Regions from separate parts of the Homo sapiens genome. Here regions 1 and 2 are each linked to region 3. Evidence: promoter capture Hi-C in human tissues and cell types (Jung and others, 2019). All regions are on one chromosome and are shown on one strand. The core of a region is centred on a gene start or on the middle of the fragment in contact, and the rest is flanking DNA. Distances in the headings are between cores, read along the strand shown.

The links. The method cuts DNA at HindIII sites, captures the fragments that hold promoters and counts their contacts. A contact is called where the count stands out against the background at its distance.
Region 1: a contact is called between a fragment that was not itself captured here and the fragment with the promoter of OR1N1 in region 3, in 5 of the 25 tissues and cell types used here (heart right ventricle, mesendoderm cells, neural progenitor cells and 2 more).
Region 2: a fragment that was not itself captured here is called in contact with the fragment with the promoter of OR1N1 in region 3 in 4 of the 25 tissues and cell types used here (H1 embryonic stem cells, mesenchymal stem cells, neural progenitor cells and 1 more).

The regions. Positions count from the first base shown.
Region 1 is chr9:122,560,092-122,563,970 of GRCh38, forward strand. It overlaps a transcript of OR1J2 not described here and a transcript of OR1L8 not described here. Among named protein-coding and RNA genes, the nearest start is that of OR1N2, 8.9 kb to the left of the region's middle. The HindIII fragment of the contact is 4,575 bases long and covers 1-3,879 here.
Region 2 is chr9:122,487,957-122,491,695 of GRCh38, forward strand. It overlaps a transcript of OR1J2 not described here. Among named protein-coding and RNA genes, the nearest start is that of OR1J1, 12 kb to the left of the region's middle. The HindIII fragment of the contact is 4,254 bases long and covers 363-3,739 here.
Region 3 is chr9:122,525,236-122,529,011 of GRCh38, forward strand. OR1N1 (olfactory receptor family 1 subfamily N member 1) reads right to left here and starts at 2,058. Exons shown (of 1, transcript NM_012363.1): 1 at 1,123-2,058. The coding sequence starts at 2,058. The coding sequence ends at 1,123. It also overlaps a transcript of OR1J2 not described here. The HindIII fragment of the contact is 9,333 bases long and covers 1-3,776 here.

The DNA.
Region 1 (3,879 bases), core at 383-2,882, 34 kb after region 3:
TTGTCTTTTTTTATTTTTGTTGGTTTAAAATCTGTTTTGTCAGAGACTAGGATCACAACCCCTCTTTTTTTTTGCTTTCCATTTGCTTGGTAAATTTTCTCCTGTCCTTTTATTTTGAGCCTATTTGTTTCTTTGCACGTGAGATGGATCTCCTGAATATAGCACACCAATAGGTCTTGACTCTTTATCCAGTTTGCCAGTCTGTGTCTTTTAATCGCAGCATTTAGCCCGTTTACATTTAAGGTTAATATTGCTATGTGTGAATTTGATCCTGTCATCATGATGCTAGCTGGTTATTTTGCACACTAATTGATGCAATTTCTTCATAGTATCGTTGGTCTTTATATTTTGGTGTTTTTGCAGTGGCTGGTACCGGTGTTTCCTTTCCATATTTAGTGCTTCCTTCAGGAGCTCTTGCAAGGCAGGCCTGGTGGTGACAAAATCCCTCAGCATTTGTTTGTCTGGAAAGGATTTTATTTCTCATTTACTTATGAAGCTTAGTTTGGCTGGATATGAAATTCTGCGTTGAAAATTCTTCTCTTTAAGAATGTTGAATATTGACCCCCACTCTCTTCTGGCATGTAGGGTTTCTGCTGAGAGATCCTCTCTTAGTCTGATGGGTTTCCCTTTGTAGGTGACCAAGCCTTTCTGTCTGGCTGCCCTTAACATTTTTTCCTTCATTTCGACCTTGGAGAATTTGATGATTATGTGTCTTGGGGTTGATCTTCTCATGGAGTATCTTAGTGGAGTTCTCTGTATTTCCTGAATTTGAATGTTGGTCTGTCTTGCTAGGTTGGGGAATTCTCCTAGATAATATCCTGAAGTGTGTTTTCCATCTTGGTTCCATTCTTCCCATCTCTTTCAGGTACTCCAATCAATCATAGGTTCTGCCTTTTTACATAGTCCCATATTTCTCAGAGGTTTTGCTCATCCCTTTTCATTCTTTTTCCTTTAATCTTGTCTGCCTGCCTTATTTCAGCATGATGGTCTTCAAACTCTGATATTCTTTCTTCTGTTTGATCGATTTAGCTATTGATACTTGCGTATGCTTCATGAAGTTCTTGTGCTGTGTTTTTCAGCTCCATCACATCATTTATGTTCCATTCCATCATTTATGTTCCTGATTGTTCTAGTTAGCAGCTCATGTAAGCCTTTATCAAGGTCCTTAGCTTCTTTGCATTGGGTTAGAACATGCCCCTTTAGCTCAGCAGAGTTTGTTATTACCCACCTTCTGAAGCCTGCCTCTGTCAGTTCATCTATTTCATCCTCCATCCAGTTCACGCCCTTGCTGGAGAGGTGTTGTGATCATTTGGAGGAGAAAAGGCACTCTGGCCTTTTGGATTTTCAGCGTTTTTTCGTTGATTCTTTCTCATCTTCATGAGTTTGTCTAGTTTCCATCTTTGAGGCTGCTGACCCTTGGATGAGGTTTTTGTGGGGACGTTTTTTGTTCATGCTGTTGTTGTTTTCTGTTTGTTTTTCTTTCAGTGGTCAGGTCCCTCTTCTGTAGGGCTGCTGTGGTTTGCTGGGGGTTCATTTCAGGCCTTATTCATCTGGTTCACTCCTGCACCTGGAGATGTCACTGGGGGAAGCTGGAGAACAGTAAAGATGGGTGCCTGCTCCTTCCATTGGTATCGCTGACCTTGAGGGGCACCGACCTAATGCCAGCAGGAATGCTTCTGTATAAAATGTCTGACAACCCCTGTTGCAGGGTCTCACCCAGTTGGTGGCACTGGGAGCAGGACCCATTTAATGAAGCACTTTGGCTGTCCCTTGGTGGAGGGGGTATGCTGTGCTGGAGGGAAACTTACTCATCTGGGCTGCCCAGATTCCTCAGAACTAGCAGTAGGAAAAACTAAGTCTGCTGGTCCGTGGAGACTATGGCCACCCCTTCTACTAGGGGCTCAGGCCCAGGGAGATGAGAGTTCTGTCCTTGAGCCCCTGGCGGGAGTTGTTGGAGTTCCTGCAGGGAGGCCCTCCCAGTGAGGAGGGATGGGTCAGGGTCTTGCCTGAAGAGGCACTCTGGCTGCAGTCTGCCACAGCCGGTGTGTTTGGCTGTGGGGAATATTTCTTGCCACCAAGTCTCCCTGGCTCGGCAGGGGAAAATAGTGACCTGGAGCTATAGAGATGGCTGCCGCCCTTCCCCCGCCATGGGAGCTTAGTGTGTTAGGCAGCTAGCAGTCCCAGTGTTGGCTGCTGCCCCTCCCGCAGGGAGCTTAGACAGCTTAGGCAGCAGGCAGTTGCAGCTGTGGTGATGGCTGCAACTCCTCCCAGGAAGTCAGCAGGCTTAAGCAGATTCTAGCTGAGTGGCTATTGAGAATCTGCGTAGCTCTGTTGTTGGGACCCTAGGCCCTGGTGGCAGGGGCTCTCAAGTGGGATCTTCTGATCTGTGGGTTGCACAGTTCTGTGGAAAAAGCATGGTTTCCCAGGCTGGGTAGCACGCTCACTCACCACCTCCCTTGGCTGGTGGGTGGGGACTCCCCTGCCCTGTGTGGCTCTCAGGTGGGCTGCCACACCACACTGCACTTCCTTCCTCTCCGTGTGTCATACCAACTGCCTAGTCAGTCCTGGTGACAGCACCTGGATACCTTGGTTGCCGTTGCAGGGTTCGCATGCTGTTTTGGTTGTTTTCTGAATTCAACTTTTTAAAAATCCCACAAATAAGTGAGAATATGGGTATTGGTCCTTCTGTGCCTAGCTTATTTTATTTAACATAATGTCGACTAGGTTCATCCATGCTGCCACAAAAGAATAAAAATGATTTTATTCGTTTTATGGCTGCATGGTGTTCCATTGTGCACATATAGCACTTAAAAAAATCCGTGTATCCACTGATGGACATTTTGGTTGATTCCATATCTTGGCTGTTGTAAATAGTGCTGTAATAAACTTGAGGGTGCAGATGACTCTTTGACGTACTTATTTCTTTTCCTTTGGATATATAACCAGTAGTGGGACTACTGGATCATATGGTAGATATATTTTAATTTTTTGAGGAATCTTGACACTGTTGACCATAATGGATGTACTAATTTATATTCTCACCAACAGTGTATAAGTGCTCCCCTTTCTCCACATCCTCACTAGCATTTGTTATTTTTTTTTTTGTCTCTTTGATAATAGCCATTCTAACTGGGATGAGGTGATATCTCATTGTGTTTTTAAAAAGTTTGTTTTTATTTTTAAATTTTATGGATACATCATAGTATAGTTAACAATAATTTATTGTATATTTCATTGTGATTTTGATTTGCATTTCCCTAATGATTAGTGATACTGAGCATTTTTCCATAAGCTTGTTGACCATATAGATGTCTTCTTTTAAGAAATATCTATTTAGGTCTTTTCTCCATTTTTAAAATCATTTATTTGTTTTTTTGTTGTTATCGAGACATTTGAGTTTCTTATATATTCCACATATTAACCTCTTGACAGATGCATAGTTTGCAAATATTTTCTCCCATCCTGTAGGTTGTCTCTTTGCTCTGTTGATTGTTTCCTCTGCTGCGCAGATGCAATTTAGTTTTATGTAAATCCATTTGTCTATTTTTGCTTTTGTTGTCTATGCTTTTAAGGTCTTATCCAATTAATCTTTAGCCAGATCAATGTCATAAAGCATTTCCCCTATGGCTTTGTCTAGTATTTTCATAGTTTCAGGTCTTACAGTCAAGTTGTTAATTTCTTTTGAGCAGAGTTTTGTATGTGGTAAGAGATAGAGATCTAGTTATTCTTTTGCATACACATATTCAGTTTTTATAACATCATATATTGAAGAAACTGTGCTTTTCCCAATGTGTATTCTTCACACCTTTGTCAAAAATCAGTTGGCTATAGATACATGATTTATTTTTGGGTTGTCTATTCTGTTTCATTATCCATATG
Region 2 (3,739 bases), core at 1,240-3,739, 37 kb before region 3:
TTTCCCATTTATTGAGTTTGACAATGTCTCAAAAGTAAATGGTTAAATGAGTATTCAAACATAAACACATTAACTTCAAACCTAAAGCCTGGTTTCATTCTAGGCTTTCTTCCATGTTGCCTCCCTTATATTAGTGAGCTCTATATTTTAAATAATTCTTTTGGGTTTTTTGTTTGTTTGTTTTGTTTTTGTTTTATTTTTGTTTTGAGACAGTTCTGTTGCCCAGGCTGGAGTGCAGTGGCATGATCTCAGCTCACTGCAACCTCTGCCTCCTGGGTTCAAGTGATTCTCATGCCTCAGCCTCCCAAGTAACTGGAATTACAGGTGTGTGCCACCACGTCCAGCTAATTTTTTGTATTTTTAGTAGAAATGGGGTTTTGCCATGTTGCCCAGGGTGGTCTCAAACTCCTGAGCTCAGGTGATCTGCCCGCCTCAGCCTCCCAGAGTGCCTGGATTATAGGCGTGAGCCACCGCTCCTGGCCTATACAGACTTCCTCCTTCCCACATTCAATTTGGAACTGGAAGGAGAGGTGTTACTAGTCCCTGAGGATTAAGAACACTTTTCAAGGACTAGAGATTTATTTTCCTCATGGGAAACACCTGAATACATGCAGGATTTATTTTTGGTTAGTGATGACACATAATAATAGTTGGAACAGACTCAGGGCTCAAAAAGTATTCTTTGACCATAAAAATGAGTGTGAGAATCTTCAGAAACCTGCTACATTCAGGTTGGCAAAAATATAAAAGAGACGGAGAATTAAGTGGAGGAGATTGCTTTTTTCATTATTTCTTTGAATAATTTGTGCATTCATTTACTCATTCAGAAGAATATTGTATAAATATGATGTGGCAAGAATTTTGTGAGGCACTGTAAGTAAAGAAAACACAAGTTTCTTTTTTTAAAATTTATTATACTCTAAGTTCTGGGGTACATGTGCAGAATGTGCAGGTTTGTTATATAGGTATACACATGTCATGGTGGTTTGCTGCACCCATTACCCATCGTCTACATTAGGTATTTCTCTTAATGCTATCCCTCCCCTAACCCCCCCACCCATTGACAGGCCCTGGTGTGTGATGTTCCCATCTCTGTGTCCATGGGAAAACACAATTTTCTGTCCCCAAAGAGTTCCCAATCCATTGAATGAGATCGACAAAACCGTCCACATCAGACACTGTAATGAAGGTAAGAGCCGAGTGCTGTGGGAACACAAAGGGGGGCATCAAACCCAAATTAAAGGCATCAAGCAAGTGTTCTGTGTGGGAAACTTATGAGGGGAGAAGAAAAGACACACACACCATTCCTTTATTCCATATATAAATATATATATATATATTTACACTCGCCAGACTACGGAGGATTCACCACCAGACTGGAAAGCAACAGCCTGGGTTCCAGAGTCAGATACAAAACTCACCAGACTGTGGAGGATTCACCACCAGACTGGGAAGAAACAGCCTGGGCTCCAGAGTCGGCCACTTGTCCGTGCACAGACAAGGAGAGGTTTCATGAAGCTTCGGTGCTAGGGTCTGGGACCCTAGCTCTTTTTGTAAGAAGTTGTTTTGCATGAGGCCCAGTGACGAGGGCCCTTTGCGACTGGGCTCAAGGAACACAAAAAGATCAACTTGTTTTTGCAATTATCTATTGTTTTTCAATAACCAATGTATAGGAATAGATTGAAATAGAGATTTCTCCGAAACAGTGCTGGATGAATGCCTCAAGGGGCTCACACAACCTGTTCCCGGACTTGGTGACCATTGTTTGTGTCCACGTTCAATTGAGTTCAAATTTAATATTTAACTTTTTCTCCACATTGGGCCTCAATTTGATACTCAGTTGTAGGAAAATACCCTTACAGATACATGGGGAAGGCACAGTTGATAGATTACAGATACATGGTAAGCACAGGAGAATTAAAAACGCAATTAATAAAAACCACACCTACGATAGCTTTGCAAGGAGAGTAATATTGTGAGAATTGTCAGGGATAGACACATAACATTTAGTATGCAGTAAGGCACAAACCCCTCCTTGGGCTGTGGTAAGCATATCTAATGCCTCTCGATTTTGCAACACAACAGTGCACGGCTGAGCAAATTCATCTGATAACATAAGTCCAGTGCTACTATCATTAAGAGCTTTTTCTACATGTAAGCTTAATATTTTAATTTGTTGCTGAAGCAGGATTGTACTGGTGGCAGGGGAGAATACTGTGATAGGGTACCATCATCAGGGAGTCTGGCACATTCATAACCAGTGATGTTTGTAAGCATCTAGATTACTGGGGAGGGAATATTATCCCAGATGGTGAATGGAATTAATGGCCATCCCCAAATGCATCTCCCCATCCAATGTGGGGTGGTGAGTGTAAATATATATATATCTCTTTTCCTTTATCCCCTTCCCATTGCAACTTGCTTATTATATCAATTTGCTTATTATATCATTGGCTTGTTATATCTGCATTGCCATTTACGTGGGATAAAGCTTGTTTACCCTTAAAGGTATTTTGTGTGTGTCTTTTCTTCTCCCCTCATGCGTTTCCCACACAGAACAGCAAGTAGGCTTGTAGAAAGTTACAAGTAAGCAGAAACTCAAGAAAATCAAAACAAGTAGAAGGTGATGTCAACAACATAGAGGCAGAGCAGTGAAAGGGAGAGAAACAGAGGAATAGGAAAAGACCTACAGAAGAGAAAGGATGGCAAATTTAGGAAACAATTGTCAGAAAAATTAGAGTGGCTAAAATGTACACTTGAACAGGGGAAGAGGTTCAGGATGAGTCCAGAGAAACTAGAAGGAATAAATCATGCAGGACCTTAGAAGCCATATTGAAGAATTTGCATATTACTCAAAAGGAAAGAAAGAGCCATGGAAGGACTTGATCAGCAGATTGACAATCATACTAAACACAGTTGGTATAGTTCAGGAGTGGATAATGAGCATGTGTTTGCAGTGGGCAGAGGACATGTTGGCAGAGCAGGCATGGGGTAGTGGAATGCAAGACCAGAAGCAAAGAGACTCATTAGGAGAAGATGACAGTCATTTAGGTAAGAGATTATGAAAGTGTGTATAAGAGAGTGACCATGATGTTAGAACTATATTGATTTAAGTCTCCGTAGTCAGAATCTAATGGATATAGTAATTTTGATGTGAGTTGATTTTGATAAGAATGTAGAAAATAAGGAGAACAAAGGAGTTGAAAACCTCTCTAAATTTATGGCTTGGACAGCTGAGTGTATGGTTGTGCTATTCACTGAAGGCAATATAGAAGAAAAAGATTTGAGAAGTTGTATTGCATAGAGTATGAGGTACCTATAGGTCATCCATGAGACAAATTTAGTAGGCAGGTGGATATATTTTGGATAGAGATAGAAATTCATGGACTGTCAACATAGAGGAGGATGAGATTGCCTGAAAACAAATGAGGTTAGTAAAAGCTGAGGAAAAAGAAGAAGGAGGGGAGAGAAAGGGAGGAGAGAAGAGGAAAGGAGAAGGGAGAAAAGCAAGGAAAGGGAAGGGAATAGTTGCTGAGGACAGACCACAGGGAACATTGACAATTAAGATAGTAGCAGAGAAATAAAGCCCCCAAAAGACATCAAATAACAACCAGAGATGGAGAAGGAGAATATAAAAATGTAGAGCCAAGGTTAAGTGCTGAAACCATTCATTGGATTTAGTAATAATGAGGATTTCGGTGACATGACTAGGAGCAATGCAAATAAAAGGTGGGAATGG
Region 3 (3,776 bases), core at 808-3,307:
TCTAAATGATTCACATTTGTACTTACTAATAGCTGAAGCCTGGAACAGTTTGATTCCATGAAAGATGCTCCATAAGTATTCATTGAAAAAGTGCAGCAATCATAAAACATTTTAGAATAGGTTAGGTCTGAGAAACAAACTTAAATGAGGAAGGAGTTTAGGTAGCCAGTGGACACCTGGTGATACCAGATGTAAGAAATCAAAACTATATAGCCCTTATATTTAAAATAATATTTTTAATATTTCTAAGATTCTTGGAGACAGATAGAATGCCATTTACCTTCAAACATCATTTTTTCCATCTCTGCAACTAATTTAAGCTGCTGGTGCCCCTTTTAGATGTGGACGCAAACCTGCAGTCAAATAAGGAGAGAGGATTTCCACGTTCCTCTCATCTAATAGTCACTAAAAGGATGGTGGCATTGCACGTTTCTGACCAGCATGGGGCAGAGGTAGCACAAGGAGCTTTAACCCCCTTCCTAGTGAAACATTAGCCAACCGTGGGGTGGGCAACCCGCATGGAAACCTAAACATTGAATTTGAACCTTTTGATGGGGATCTCTTTAGCTATTCTGCAGCACATGGAATGCAGCCTCCATCTTTATTTCTTTTGTCTTACTCCCCACTTAATGCCACAAACAAAACAAGTGCCCCCAAAATTTTAATGATCGACAAATTAATAACCTAGAATGAAAGTGTCATGAAAGCAGGGACTTTGTCTTGCTCAGTGTCATAACCCTAGCACTTACAATAACTTCCAACACACCATAGATAGTAAATATTTATTGAACAAATATATCTCAGAGAAAAGATTTTTTGACTTCTGAGTTGGGGGAGGAATGAAGAATACTAATAGTAATAATAATAGCTATCCCTTATTGAACACCTACTGTTATTCACTACTATACTGAATGCATTTCATAGTTTATTTCAGTTAATCCTCCAAGTTACATTATTAGATAGAAACTGTTATCTCCATTTTATAAATGAGAAAACCAAGGCTCAGAGAGGCTAAGTAACCAGACTACAATCTTATGGCTAGTGTGTGGTAGACCCCAAAATGAAGCCCGTTTGTCTGACTCCAAGCCTATGTCTTTTCATTAAATGTTGCTGTCACCACATCTAAGAGGAAACAATACTCCTGTGACTGAAGAGCCTCTTTAGGGCCCCCTTCATGTCCTTGTTCCTTAGGCTATAGATAAAGGGGTTCAACATGGGAGTCACTATGGTGTACATTGCAGCTGCTGCAATGTCCTTCTCTTCAGAGGCAATGGAGGGAGGACACAGGTAGGCACTGAAGAGGGTCCCATAGAACACACAAACAACGCAGAGGTGGGAACTGCAGGTGGAAAAGGCCTTGCCCACCCCACCACGGGTTCGGACCCTCAGGATAGCTGGCACAATGTGGATGTAGGAGGTGACAATGCATAAAAAGGGGACGATGAGTACGGTGCCTCCCAAGACAAAAACCATCATCTCGTTGATGTGGGTGTCAGAACATGACAGCTTCAGGACAGGAGTGATGTCACAGAAAAAGTGAGCAATTTCCCCAGTCACACAGAAGGACAACCGAGCCATGAGGAACGTGTGAGTCAGGGCAACGATATTGGTGAGGACCCAGCACAATGCAAGCATTAGGGCACAGACTTGGGGCCTCATGACTGTGGAGTAGCAGAGGGGGTGGCAAATGGCCACATAGCGGTCATACGCCATGGCAGCCAGGAAGAAGCTGTCTAGATCACCAAACATCAGAAAGAAATACATTTGCGTGAGGCAACCCGTATAGGAGATGGTGTGATGCCGAGTCTGTATATTCACCAGCATCTTGGTAACTGTGGAGGACGTTAAACCCATGTCAACAAAAGACAGGTTGGCCAAGAAAAAGTACATGGGGGTGTGGAGGTGCAGGTCAGAGCCAATGGCCAGGATGATGAGCAGGTTCCCAGTCAAGGTGACAAGATACATACACAGGAAAATTCCGAAGAGGGACTGCTGTTGCTCTGGAGGCGCTGATATTCCTCGGAGGAAAAATTCAGAAATGCTGGATTGGTTTTCCATGACTCTGCAGCATCTGGAGCTGAGGGAAGACAGTTAGAATGCTAGATTTCATCTACAACTGTGTGGGCTGACTCCCAAATCTCCCTTTAAGTTCATTATATTCCTAATCCTGACTTTATCTTCATTCTGATCCTGCTTCTTTTCTCTCTTCATCAGAGTCTCATTTTCCCCCTTTCTCCTCTCTTTACCACTATTTAATCTTTTACACATAGAGTCCCCTTCCAATAAGGTCAGGGCATATTCTCCCTTGGCATGACCATGCCTTAGACTAGTCTATAGCCTCATGTTAGTTTCATTTTTGCAGTAGGCTGTCTATGTGAGTAGACTGAGGTCAGCTAAATTTTACATTCTTTTGGGAGGTAGCCAAAAAACCCACACAAAATTCTTAATTTTGACACATCCTCATTCATTTTAGAGTGAAGGGCATATGAAGGACTCATGCCTCTTTATTTTTTCATTATTTCTTTTGAAAAAGAAAATACGAAGTCCTGCATTTCTCCCTGCATTTGAGTTTTTGTCATTGGCATCATCATCATCCTGTAGCTAACGCATATTACATGTTAGCCACATATATGACAGGTACTCTACTAAGTACTTTATGAAGATTGTTTCCTTTAATCCTTAAACAACACTAGGATGCAGAGATTGTTATTCTTACCCTTATATAAGAAAACTGAGTCTAAGGATGTTTAAGTAAATTGTACAAGGACCCAGAGCTCATAAATATTTGAGACAGAATTCAAACCCACAGCAATGGTTTCCAGAGACTGTACCATCAGTCAATATAGATAGAAAGTAACTTTCTAGGACCACATTTATATTTAATCCCTCAGTATTCTTAGTTTAACGTATTTAGTCTCACTTGCCTTTACTATCTTTTATATGTGTGTTTTACAGAAGAACAACGAAATTTAAGAACTAGATAGAACCTGAAAGATCACCTGGCCCAGAGGTCTCAAGCATTGGTCTGTAGACCAGTTTATCATAATCAAGTGAGATGCTTATTTAAAATCCTGATCCCGGCTGGGCACAGTGGCTCATGCCTGTAATCCCAGCACTTTGGGAGACCGAGGCAGGCGGATCTACCTGAGGTCAGTAGTTCAAGACCAGCCTGACCAACATGACAAAACCCCATCTCTATTAAAAATACAAAAATTAGCCGGGTGTGGTGGCATGTGCCTGTAATCCCAGCTACTTGGTAGGCTGAGGCCGGAGAAGCACTTGAGCCTGGGAGTTGGAGGTTGCAGTGAGCCGAGATCATGCCATTGCACTCCAGCCTGGGCAATAGAGCAAGACTCCGTCTAAAATAAATAAATAAATAAAGATAAAAATAATAATCCCTACCTCAGACCTGTCAAATTTAAATTTCTAGGATACAATTTAGGTACCTGTATTTAAAAACTAAAACTGAAGGCTTCTCAGGTATTTTGATGCTCAGTGAGGATTAAGAAAATTTTGCTTAGTCCAACTCCTCCCTTTGATTCAGATAAATAAGCTAAAGTTCAAAAGACCAAAGTGATTGAAAAAGTTTACACTATGTCTTGGAGGAAGATACGGTATGAAAACCAGGGTATCAATGCTCTCAGACAGGTGTTCTTTTTAAAAATCAGCTATCTTTTCATTTTTAGAATTCTTTGTCATTAATATCTTACAGATCTAGATGTGTTTCTTTGTCCTGATTTATATTTAGAGTCTATACCTGAATAAAAAGTTATCTT